3 separate regions of the Homo sapiens genome follow, and all the other regions are linked to region 3. Evidence: promoter capture Hi-C in human tissues and cell types (Jung and others, 2019). All regions are on one chromosome and are shown on one strand. The core of a region is centred on a gene start or on the middle of the fragment in contact, and the rest is flanking DNA. Distances in the headings are between cores, read along the strand shown. Region 1 overlaps GATAD2A (GATA zinc finger domain containing 2A). Region 2 overlaps PBX4 (PBX homeobox 4). Region 3 holds the start of NR2C2AP (nuclear receptor 2C2 associated protein).

Region 1 (3,444 bases), core at 805-3,304, 260 kb before region 3:
TCTCAGCTACTCAAGAGGCTGAGGCAGGAGAATCACTGAAACCCACGAGGTGGAGATCGTGCCACTGCACTCCAGCCTGGGTGACAGAGTGAGACTCTGTCTCAAAAAAAAAAAAACAAAAAAAAAAATAAAGTCGCAGTTTGGCTCTAGTAATTTTTTGGTCTTAAAGTGTCTTTTATCTCTTATTAATACAGTTACTCCAGCTCTCAAGCGGTTACTTATGGTACCTCTTTTTCCATCCTTTTGTATTATTCCTTGAATCTAAGGGGCGTCACTTATAAACAACATATAATTAAGCTGAATCTTGCTTCTTTTTTTTTTTTTCTGAGACAGACGGAGCTCTGTCACCCAGGCTGGAGTGCAGTGGCACCATCTCAGCTTACTGCAACCTCCGCTTCACGGATTCAAGTGATTCTCCTGCCTCAGCCTCCCAAGTAGCTGGGACTATAGGTGCGTGCCACCACGCCTGGCTAATTTTTGTATTTTTAGTAGAGACGGGGTTTCACCATATTGGCCAGGGGCTGCTATCAAACTCCTGACCTTGTGATCCGCCCACTTTGGCCTCCCAAAGTGCTGGCATTACAGGCGTGAGCCACTGCGCCCAGCCTGAATCTTGCTTCTTTACACTATCTGATAGTCCTTGCCTTTTGATTGAGGTATTTAGATCCTTCACAGTTACTGCATTATTGACATGGCTGGATTGACATTTGCCATTTTGTTTTCTACATGTCCTCTTGTTTGTTCCTTTATTTCTCAGTGAATAAAGAAACTGCCTTCTTTCGTGTTAAATATTTTTTAGTGTATAACTTTAATTCTGATGATCTTTTTTTCTTTTTTTTTGAGATGGAGTCTCGTTCTTTCATCCAGGTTGGAGTGCAGTGGCGCGATCTTGGCTCACTGCAAGCTCCGCCTCCCAGGTTCACACCATTTTCCTGCCTCAGCCTCCCAAGTAGCTGGGACTACAGGTGCCCACCACCATGCCAGGCTAATTTTTTTGTATTTTTAGTAGAGACGGGGTTTCACTGCGTTAGCCAGGATGGTCTTGGTCTCCTGACCTTGTGATCCACCTGCCTCAGCCTCCCAAAGTGCTGGAATTACAGGAGTCAGCCACTGTGCCCAGCCCTGATTTTTTTAAAAAACTATATTTTAAAGTTATTTTGTTCAGAGCTGCTCTAGGCATTACAGTAAGCATCTTAATCACAATCTATATAAGACTGATGCTAACTTGATTCCAGTAAGATACAGAAATTTTGCTCCAATATTGCTCCATTTAATTCCCCATCTTTTGTACTAATATGACATATATTTTATCTGTGGATATTATAAACCCAACAAATCATTCAAAGCCTTTGGTTGGCTTCCAGACTGCAGAACTAGTTAAGTCTTTCCAGTTAACCCATGCATTTACCATTTCCAGTGTTCTTTATTTCTTCTCATAGACTCAAGCTGCCAACGTGTCATTTATTTTCAGGCTGAAGAACTGGCAGGTCTACCAGCAATGGATTCCTTCAGTCTTGTTTACCTGACAATGTCTTTTTTGCTTTCATTTTTGAAGGACTGTTTTTACTGGTATAGAATTCTGGGTTGGCAGTTTTCTTCTTTGGATACTTTTAACATCATTCAACTCCTTTTTGTTTCCATTGTCTCGAGTCAGAAGTCAGCTGTTCATCTTATTAATGCTCCCCAGATGTGCTGAGTTGTTTTTCTTTTGCTACTTTCAAGATTTTCTTCTTTTCTTTGGCTTTCTACAGTTTGACTATGATGTATCTAGGTCAAGATCTCTTTGTACTTATGCTATTTAGGGTTTGTTGGGATTCCTGGATGAGTTTCTCCTCAAGTATGTTTTTGCCCATTATTTCTTCAAATAGTTTTTCTATCTTGCCCCAACCTTGGGCTAAAACAGAGCCGCTGTGTCTCCCCACTTGCCCATCTCCAAGACTGTCACTCTCATCTACAAGACCACAGGCAGGGTTGCTACCACTCTAAAATGAACAGTCCTCCTTTTCACCCACACAGCGAAGCTGTTGGTCCTCAAAGCTGACAGTGGCTGGACAGAACCTCTTTACCAAACAGATGGGAGAGGGCATAGGAATAGCTCCAGGCCAAATGCCATACAGTCTCACTGTTCTCACCTGAAATTCAGCAGTTACAGGCATAAATACTTCTCAGATTGTTGTATGCCCCTGCTCAATTTTTCCAGAATGCTGAGATTGTTTCATTTTGCTTTTGTCAATTCTGCCAATCTCCTCATTCAACACAACCAGAAGTTGCCCTCCACCCTCAATTTATGTAGAATATAAAACACTCACACAAGTTGGGAGACTGAGAGAGAAAAACTGCTGAGTTAAAGAGCGACAGGGAGCGGAGTAAAAGATGGAGGCAGAAAGCTGATTCTACTACTGTATCTGCCTCTGCATGCTCCAAATCATCCAACATAGCAATATGTACACTATACACACACATGCAAACATATATATTTCTTGATGATTCCAATTCACCAGCCACTAAAGAAAAAGGAAATTCTCTCTCCTAGAAGCCATCAGAAACTGCCTCTAGCTTTCAATATGCCCAGATTCGGTCATAAGATGGTAATAAGTTAGCATGAAAGAAAAAAAGGTAGTTTTGAAAAATACCCAAATAGAAACTCTATAAACAAAATACTATACAGCAATGAAAATGGATTAACTACTGGTATGCACAACAATATGGGTAAATCTCACAATGCTGAGTGAAAGCAGGAAGATAAAAGGTACATAGTATATAATCCCACTTATTTAAAGTACCAAAGCAGGAAAAACTAATCCATATTGTCAAGAAAGTGATTACCCTTGGAAGACAGTGGCAGCAAGCAAGCATGAGGGGGCTTCAGAGGTGCTAGCAATATTTTTTTGTTTTTTGAGACAGAGTCTCACTCTTTCCCCAGGCTGAAGTACAGTGGCGCGATCTCGGCTCATTGCAAGCTCCGCCTCCCAGGTTCACACCATTCTCCTGCCTCAGCCTCCCAAGTCACTGGGACTACAGGCACCCGCCACCACACCCAGCTAATTTTTTTGTATTTTTAGTAGAGATGGGGTTTCACCGTGTTAGCCAGGATGGTCTCAATCTCCTGACCTTGTGATCCACCCGCCTCGGCCCCCTAAAGTGCTGGGATTACAGGCGTGAGTCACCGCGCCCAGCTGAACTCTGAGTTTCTTTAACACTTAACTTCTCCCTCACAATCCACTGACCTACCCTGCAGGGGAACATGGTGATTACAGGAGAAAATGCATGTCAGCAACCCAGGAATGCACAAGGGACCCCATGCACATGGACTGCAGATTCCCATGAACATGGACTCCTCCTCTTCCTGCCCTGACTCCACACCAGCCCCTCACTGCTCACCCCTGCTGAGCTGTCATGGACTGGTCTCTGGCTGAAAACATAGAGAAAGGAAAAGGAGACTTG
Region 2 (3,532 bases), core at 500-2,999, 390 kb before region 3:
CTGGAGACACTGGCTGTGGTCACGTGTTTCTTAGTATTGTGGAATTGTGTAATGTTGGTCCCTTTCACTTTTCACCTAATAAAAATAAGCCAGTGTCAGGACCACTTGCTGAGGCATGTGTACCAATAGGCACAGGCAGCCCAAGTTGTCCCTTGCTCACCCCTGACCCTGACCCCAGGAAGCAGCCTTTGGGGGCTCCCCACTGCCCACAGCGGATGTTTAGCAATGCAACATCTGGAATTTAGTAATAATAAAAAACTATTTTAAAAAGTACTTTTTAAAGGCTGGGTGCGGTGGCTCACGCCTGTAATCCCAGCACTTTGGGAGGCCGAGGCAGTTGGACCACCTGAGATCAGGAGTTCGAGACCAGCCTGACCAACATGATGAAACCCCGTCTCTACTAAAAATACAAAAATTAGCTGGGCGTGGTGGCATGCGCCTGTAATCCCAGTTACTCAGGAGGCTGAGGCAGGAGTATCACTTGAACCCAGGAGGCAGAGGTTGCAGTGAGATGACATTGCGCCACTGCACTCCAGCCTGGGTGACAGAGTGAGACCCTGTCTAAAAAAAAAAAGTACTTTAATCAACTGTAGTCTCAGGAAGCTGTCATTCTTGACCTTCCTACCAGTGAGCTGCTGGGGCTGAACGAGAAACCAATTTTTGAGAGTGTGGGTGTTCAGCCTGGGCACGCCTCTTCATAATTCCATCTGCCCCTGTGTGGATGTTACTGCATGAGTCTGTTAGTCTCAAATTCAGCAGTTTCAGGAGGGAAAACAAGAGTTGATACCAACTGTTGCCAGTGCAGCTGAGATGTCTGTCCATTTCAACCGCTGGTGTCGCCCCACCTCCCTACCCCCATCTGCCTAGGCTTTGAGGGCCATGCTCAGGACTCTTTTTTTTTTTTTTTTAGACAGAGTTTCACTCTTGTTGCCTAGGCTGGAGTGCAATGGCGCAATCTCGGCTCACTGCCTCCCAGGTTCAAGCAATTTTCCTGCCTCAGCCTCCCGAGTAGTTGGGATTACAGGCATCTGCCACCACACCCGGCTAATTTTTTGTATTTAGTAGAGACAGGGTTTCACCCTGTTGGTCAGGCTGGTCTTGAACTCTTGACCTCAGGTGATCCGCCCGCCTCGGCCTCCCAAAGTGCTGGGATTACAGCCATGTGCCACCATGCCCGGCGACATTTTTAATTTTTTATTTTTTATTTTTTTTTTTTTTTAATTAAGACACAGAGTCTCACTGTGTTGCCCAGATTGGCTTCAAACTCCTGGGCTCAAGTGATCCTCACACCTCAGCTTCCGCACACACCACCATGTCTAGGGGTCGCTGAGGACTATTTTTGGGGGGATGAGGTCTTAGTATGTTGCCCAGGTTGGCCTTGAACTCCTGAGCTCAAGTGATCCTCCTGCCTCAGCCTCCCAAGGTGTGGGGTTACAGGCAGGCGCCACTGTGCCTGGCCACTCAGGACTTTTGATTCCTCCAAGCTGAGTCCCAAGGCCGCTGCAGGGCTCAGAGCACCGGCCACCTGGGCATTTCCTTGGAAGCTAATGCTTTCTTCCCACTGACTGGCTCAAACATCTGGGTACAGGGTATGTTTTGGGGTACAGTAGGACAGGGATGAGACAGCAACTGCTCCTCCCTGAAATGCACAAGCCTGGAGCTGAGGGATGCCTGTTCCTGAGTGTCACCTGGAGTGTCCAGGTATCTTTTTATATCAGGAAGTGCAGTCAGTGAGTGCTGTGGGTCCCACCTGTGGGCCACCTGCCTTGATGTCAGGAACACCTCAGCCTTCTAGTCTCGGAGACAAACCAGCCAGTGGCAGGAAAGTAAACAGGATTTCGATTCTGCTCCATCTGTCCTCATCCCGTGACTAGGAATGGCCAAGTCTCAGCCCAGAGGAAACTGTTCATGGTCCTGATCCTGCACCCTGTGGTACCCACGGGCCGCCTCTTGAAGGGCAATCCCATGAGCCGGGGTCCTGGCGTGCTTCTCGATTTAACCCACAGTTCTCACATTTCCCTCTGGCTGAAGTCTGCAGCAGGCCTTATGGTAAAGACCAAACTTCCACAGAGCATTTAAAGCCTGGTGGGGCAGGACATGGTGGCTCACACTTATAATCCCAGTACTTTGGAATCGCTTGAGCCCAAGAGTATGAGACCAACCTGGGCAACACAGTAAGACCCTGTCTCTACAACAACAACAACGGCAAAGATTAAGTCTGGTGGGTATTGATGGAGCCTGGGCAGGCAGCTCGGGGCTTCCTCGAGTTGTTCCCCAGAGCCCTGCACAGCCTCGGGCAGACCCTTTTCTCCCGTTTTACAGATGGGCAGTGGGAAGCTCTAAGAGACAGGGGCCTCCCCAGGGCACACCAGTCACCCACAGCCAGGCTGCATGCCGCCCCACCCCGTACACTGTCCTCACTCATGAAAGGGACCCAGGGCCTGTCCCTCATGGCCGGCACTCATGGGCCCCACACACCCACCTGTGTCATCTGAACAATGACCATTCCTGGCCAGCGCAGGGTCTAGGATGCGCTATGTTCTCAGGGTCTGTCCCGGTGCCTTTCTGTTTTTGTTGATTGAAAAACTGTTTCTGGTGACTGATACATACTAACTGAAATCCCTTTCATCCAGTTCCCCTTATGAGGTTCAGAAGATTCAGTGTCTGGGGGCCTGACTTAGAACACAGGGCTTATCACTCACAGCAGCCTGAAAAGAACGTGGTCCTCCATGTAAACCTGGCATCACCGGATGCACTGCCAGCAGTCCCTGGTGAACCCCAGGAATGGCCTGTCGGAGGTATGCAGGCAGGTCCCTCAAAGCTTGTCTCCTGGGGTCAGCTTCACCACACCACAGTGTCTGGGTGTTCCTGCCCTGCGGTGGTCTCTGAAGGCCAAGGACACCCTCAGCGTATGCATTTCCTCCCAAACCCTCCTTCCCAGAAACAGCTGTCCTCCTCGGTGTCTAGAGGAGCTGTTCTGAGAACAAAATAAACCCTGATTAGTTGCAGAGCTTTGAATTTAGCTGGGAGAACCAGATACGGGCCACAGTCCCTTTGCTGAGACCCTGGGACTAGGTATGTTGCAGAATTCGAAAGCGTTGGATTTAAGATGTGTCACGTTGGCCAGGTACAGTGGCTCACGCCTATAATCCCAGCACTTTGGGAGGCTGAGGCAGACGGATCACCTGAGGTCAGGAGTTCGAGACCAGCCTGGCCAATATGGTGAACCACCCCCCCACCTCCCTCACCCACCCATCTCTACTAAAAATACAAAAACTAGCTGGGCATGGTGGCGGGTGCCTATAATCCTAGCTACACGGGAGGCTGAGGCAGAAGAATCACTTGAACCTGGGATGTGAGGTTTGCAGTGAGCTGAGATCACACCACTGCACCCCAGCTTGGGCGACAAAGTGAGACTCTGCCTCTAAAAAAATATAAAAATAAAAAATAAGGTTTGTCACATTGATGTTCCCAGTGAGGACTGAGGCGTGGCCTGAATTCACACAGTGGTGTTTGGCACCAGAGCAGGGAC
Region 3 (3,413 bases), core at 144-2,643:
TGGCCAAGATAGCGAAACCCCATCTCTACTAAAAATACAAAAATTAGCCAGGCATAGTGGTGCGCACCTGTAGTCACAGCTACTCAGGAGGCTGAGGCAGGGGAATCACTTGAACCTGGGAGGCGGAGGTTGCAGTGAGCTGAGATCACACCACTGCACTCCAGCCTGGGCAACAAAGTGAGGCTCCGTCTCGAAACAAAACAAAACAGAAACAACAAAAAACACCCGACCTCGCATGCTCCCTCCTCCAAGAAGCCTTCCTTGACGTCCCAGCAGCATTTTCTGGGAAAGACAAACTTGGAGGCCAGGGCTCCTCTGTCCCAACAAGAACAAAAAGGGTTGATGAGGACTTCAGATACTCCCAACATCGTGGCCTTTTCCACAACTCTGCCTTTGGCCTCCGGGAGGCAGTGAAGTTCGGGGATTCCCAGGCTGCATTTAGTGGTTAGGGTAGAGTAGGTTAGAGTAGGTTAGGGTAGCCGTTAGGGTAGAGTAGGTTAGAGTAGGAAGAAAGACATTGTCATAGGAAGTCTCTCTGGCCGGGCGCGGTGGCTTACGCCTGTAATCCCAGCACTTTGGGAGGCTGAGGTGGGCGGATCACTTGAGCCCAGGAGTTCGAGACCAATCTGGGCAACATGGCGAAACCTCATCTCTACCAAAAAACAAACAAACAAACAAACAAACAAAATAGCCTGCCGTGGTGGCGCGCGCCTACTAGTTCCAACTATTCGGGAAGCTGGGTAGGAGGATTGCTGGAGCCTGGGAGGCAGAGGTCGCAGAGAGCCGCGATCCCACCATTGTACTCCAGCCTGGGTGACAGTGAGACCCCACTTCAAAAAAAAAAAAAAAAAAAGGCCGGGCGCGGTGGCTCAAGCCTGTAATCCCAGCACTTTGGAAGCCCCGGCGGCTGGATCACGAGGTCAGGAGATCAAGACCATTCTGGCTAACACGGTGAAACCCCGTCTCTACTAAATATACGAAAAATTAGCCGGGCGTGGTGGCGGGCGCCTGTATTCCCAGCTACTTGGGAGGCTGAGGCAGGAGAACGGCGTGAACCCAGGGGGCGGAGCTTGCAGTGAGCGGAGATCGTGCCACTGCACTCCAGCCTGGGCGACAGTGAGACTCCGCCTCAAAAAAAAAAAAAAAAAAAGGAAGTCTTTCGGATTCCAAAATCAGTCAAAATCAGTGCTCTACACCTTCGGGCGCCGAGGGACAGCGCCCCGTGCGCGCAGCCAGCCTTTTCCCTACAGCTTCAAGGGAACCAAGGTAAATTCAATCATCGAACCCGGGCCCTTTAAGAAGCGAGCATGAAGGGGCGGGGTCGAACCAAACCCCACCTCTGGAGCGTCCGCGGTCGGCGCCTGAATTACAACACGCATGCGCCAAGCCCACGCGGTTCCGGGTCCCAAGATTTGGCTCCAAGAGCTATTCGCAGAGAAACAGCCTCGCACAAAAAGCCACCGCCCCCGAAACCCGCGGGAAATCTGTTTCCTGTGAAAGGCCTGGCCTCCGGGCATTGGCGGTTTCCCTGATCCTCTCTCCCAAATTTTCCGGCAGGGGATTGATCGAGGCGACATTTAGGACTGGGGTGGGCGAGGGAGTGGCGGTTCTCGTCCCAAGTTACAGGTGAGGACGTTCAGGCCAAGGCGTAGCCAAGATCGCGCCGCCCTGTAGCTTGAGGAGGCGCCGGGATTCGAACCAAGGCTGTGCCCAATCCTAAGCCCTGCGAGGTCTTGTGGAACCGACATGACCCACTCTTTGGTTTGTCCAGAGACAGTGAGCAGGTAAGAGTCTGTGGGGACAGGCAGTGGCGAGGCCCTAAGCCTGGGGTCGAGCCCTCAGTGGACAGATCTGGGGGTCAGGCCCTCCGCGGAGCTGAGAGCTGGTCTCAGCCCCTCTCTTCGCCTTGATCCTGGTGCCTCCAGGGTGAGTTCAGTGCTGAATCGCAACACTCGGCAGTTTGGAAAAAAACATCTTTTCGACCAGGATGAGGAGACATGTTGGAACTCAGACCAGGTGAGGCGCCTCCCTCGACCCTCCATCTCTAGGGTGATTCAGATTCAGATCTCATGCCTTGAGAACGTCAGGGGGCCCTCATGGGTGGCCAGGAAAGGAACATGTGCCGAATTTCCTTCTTCCCCTCCATTCCAAGAACTATGTGAATGAGACAGGCATAGCAGGGCTCTGTGCCTGCAGTGAGCTTGCGCCTCAGTTTCCCTGTCTGCTTCCAGGGCCCCTCCCAGTGGGTGACGCTGGAGTTTCCCCAGCTCATCCGTGTCTCCCAGCTGCAGATCCAGTTTCAGGGTGGCTTCTCCAGTCGCCGGGGCTGCCTGGAAGGTACTAGAAGGCCCTGGGTGGCAGGGGTTCCAGGGGTCACCCCAGACACTCATTGCCTTTCTCTGCTGAAGGTTCACAGGGCACTCAGGCTCTCCACAAGATTGTAGATTTCTACCCTGAGGACAACAACTCGCTTCAGATATCCTGCCCCTGCTTCTGGGGTGGGTGGTCTGTGCCTCTGGAAGCTTTGGACTCACCCAAACCCGAATGGGAACCCTGATGTGTGATCTTGAACACGTGACCTCTAGGACTCCACTTTTTCTGTAAAATGGTGCTGATGACCACCTGTTCTGTGTGAGAGGCTTAGAGGGACCTGCAGCTTCCCCAGGTTGCCCACATCGGTGGAGTGTGAGCTGGGTCTGGAAGGGGTGGGGGCCTGCGGGTGGGAAACCAGAAATCACCAGTTTCCCTTGACTGCCCACGCTCACACTTTCCCCATACCAGCTGCTGAAGTGGACCGGCTGAAGGTGACGTTTGAGGATGCCACTGACTTTTTTGGCCGTGTGGTCATCTACCACCTGCGGGTGCTTGGGGAGAAGGTGTGAGACCTCTAGGGGCTGTCTCCTCCAGGAAGCCCTCCGGGAAGCACAGCAAAGTCCCTCATTCTGCACAGAAGGTTTATTGGTTCCTCTTGGGAAGGGTCCCCTCCCACCACCTGTCCAGAAGCTGCCTTTGAAGTCAGTTCTGGGTTTCCCCAGCTCTGGCTGACCATTTTGTTCCCTGAGTGTCTGAGTCCCCGGCAGGCGGCCTTCACTCAGGGTCAGCGGGCACCAGGTTGCTCTGGAAGAGCTTGAGGATGTGGTTCTCGATCACCTGTTGCACTGAGATGGGGCAGGGAAAAGGTGGGCTGTGAGCTTGAATCGGGAGTGGGGTGGAGGCACAGGCCAACCTGCGCTCTCCCCTTAGGGGACAAACAGGGACCCTTGCAGAGACCTGCATTACAGAGCAAAGCTGGGAGAACCGAGGACTCACCCCAGGAACCTCAACTTCCCCTAAGTTTGTAAAAATGCACTTTTGTAGCTTTTCAGAATTAATATAAAAATATTTCCTACCAAGCAAAATGTGTGAATTGTGAC

What was found. Contacts are between HindIII fragments. The study calls those that stand out against the background at their distance.
Region 1: a fragment that was not itself captured here is called in contact with the fragment with the promoter of NR2C2AP in region 3 in 1 of the 25 tissues and cell types used here (dorsolateral prefrontal cortex).
Region 2: a fragment that was not itself captured here is called in contact with the fragment with the promoter of NR2C2AP in region 3 in 2 of the 25 tissues and cell types used here (bladder and dorsolateral prefrontal cortex).

The regions. Positions count from the first base shown.
Region 1 is chr19:19,466,828-19,470,271 of GRCh38, reverse strand. All of the region lies in intron 2 of GATAD2A (GATA zinc finger domain containing 2A), which reads right to left. Among named protein-coding and RNA genes, the nearest start is that of MIR640, 33 kb to the right of the region's middle. The HindIII fragment of the contact is 7,140 bases long and covers 1-3,444 here.
Region 2 is chr19:19,591,772-19,595,303 of GRCh38, reverse strand. The region is part of intron 2 of PBX4 (PBX homeobox 4); the gene reads left to right. Among named protein-coding and RNA genes, the nearest start is that of PBX4, 25 kb to the left of the region's middle. RefSeq lists an enhancer at 2,064-2,688. The HindIII fragment of the contact is 8,394 bases long and covers 1-3,532 here.
Region 3 is chr19:19,201,394-19,204,806 of GRCh38, reverse strand. NR2C2AP (nuclear receptor 2C2 associated protein) reads left to right here and starts at 1,393. Exons shown (of 5, transcript NM_176880.6): 1 at 1,393-1,784; 2 at 1,926-2,016; 3 at 2,232-2,337; 4 at 2,409-2,476; 5 at 2,766-3,398. The coding sequence starts at 1,747. The coding sequence ends at 2,882. It overlaps RFXANK (regulatory factor X associated ankyrin containing protein), which reads right to left. Exons shown (of 10, transcript NM_003721.4): 10 at 2,941-3,158. The coding sequence ends at 3,088. RefSeq lists an enhancer at 1,193-1,487 and a silencer at 2,151-2,417. The HindIII fragment of the contact is 14,823 bases long and covers 1-3,413 here.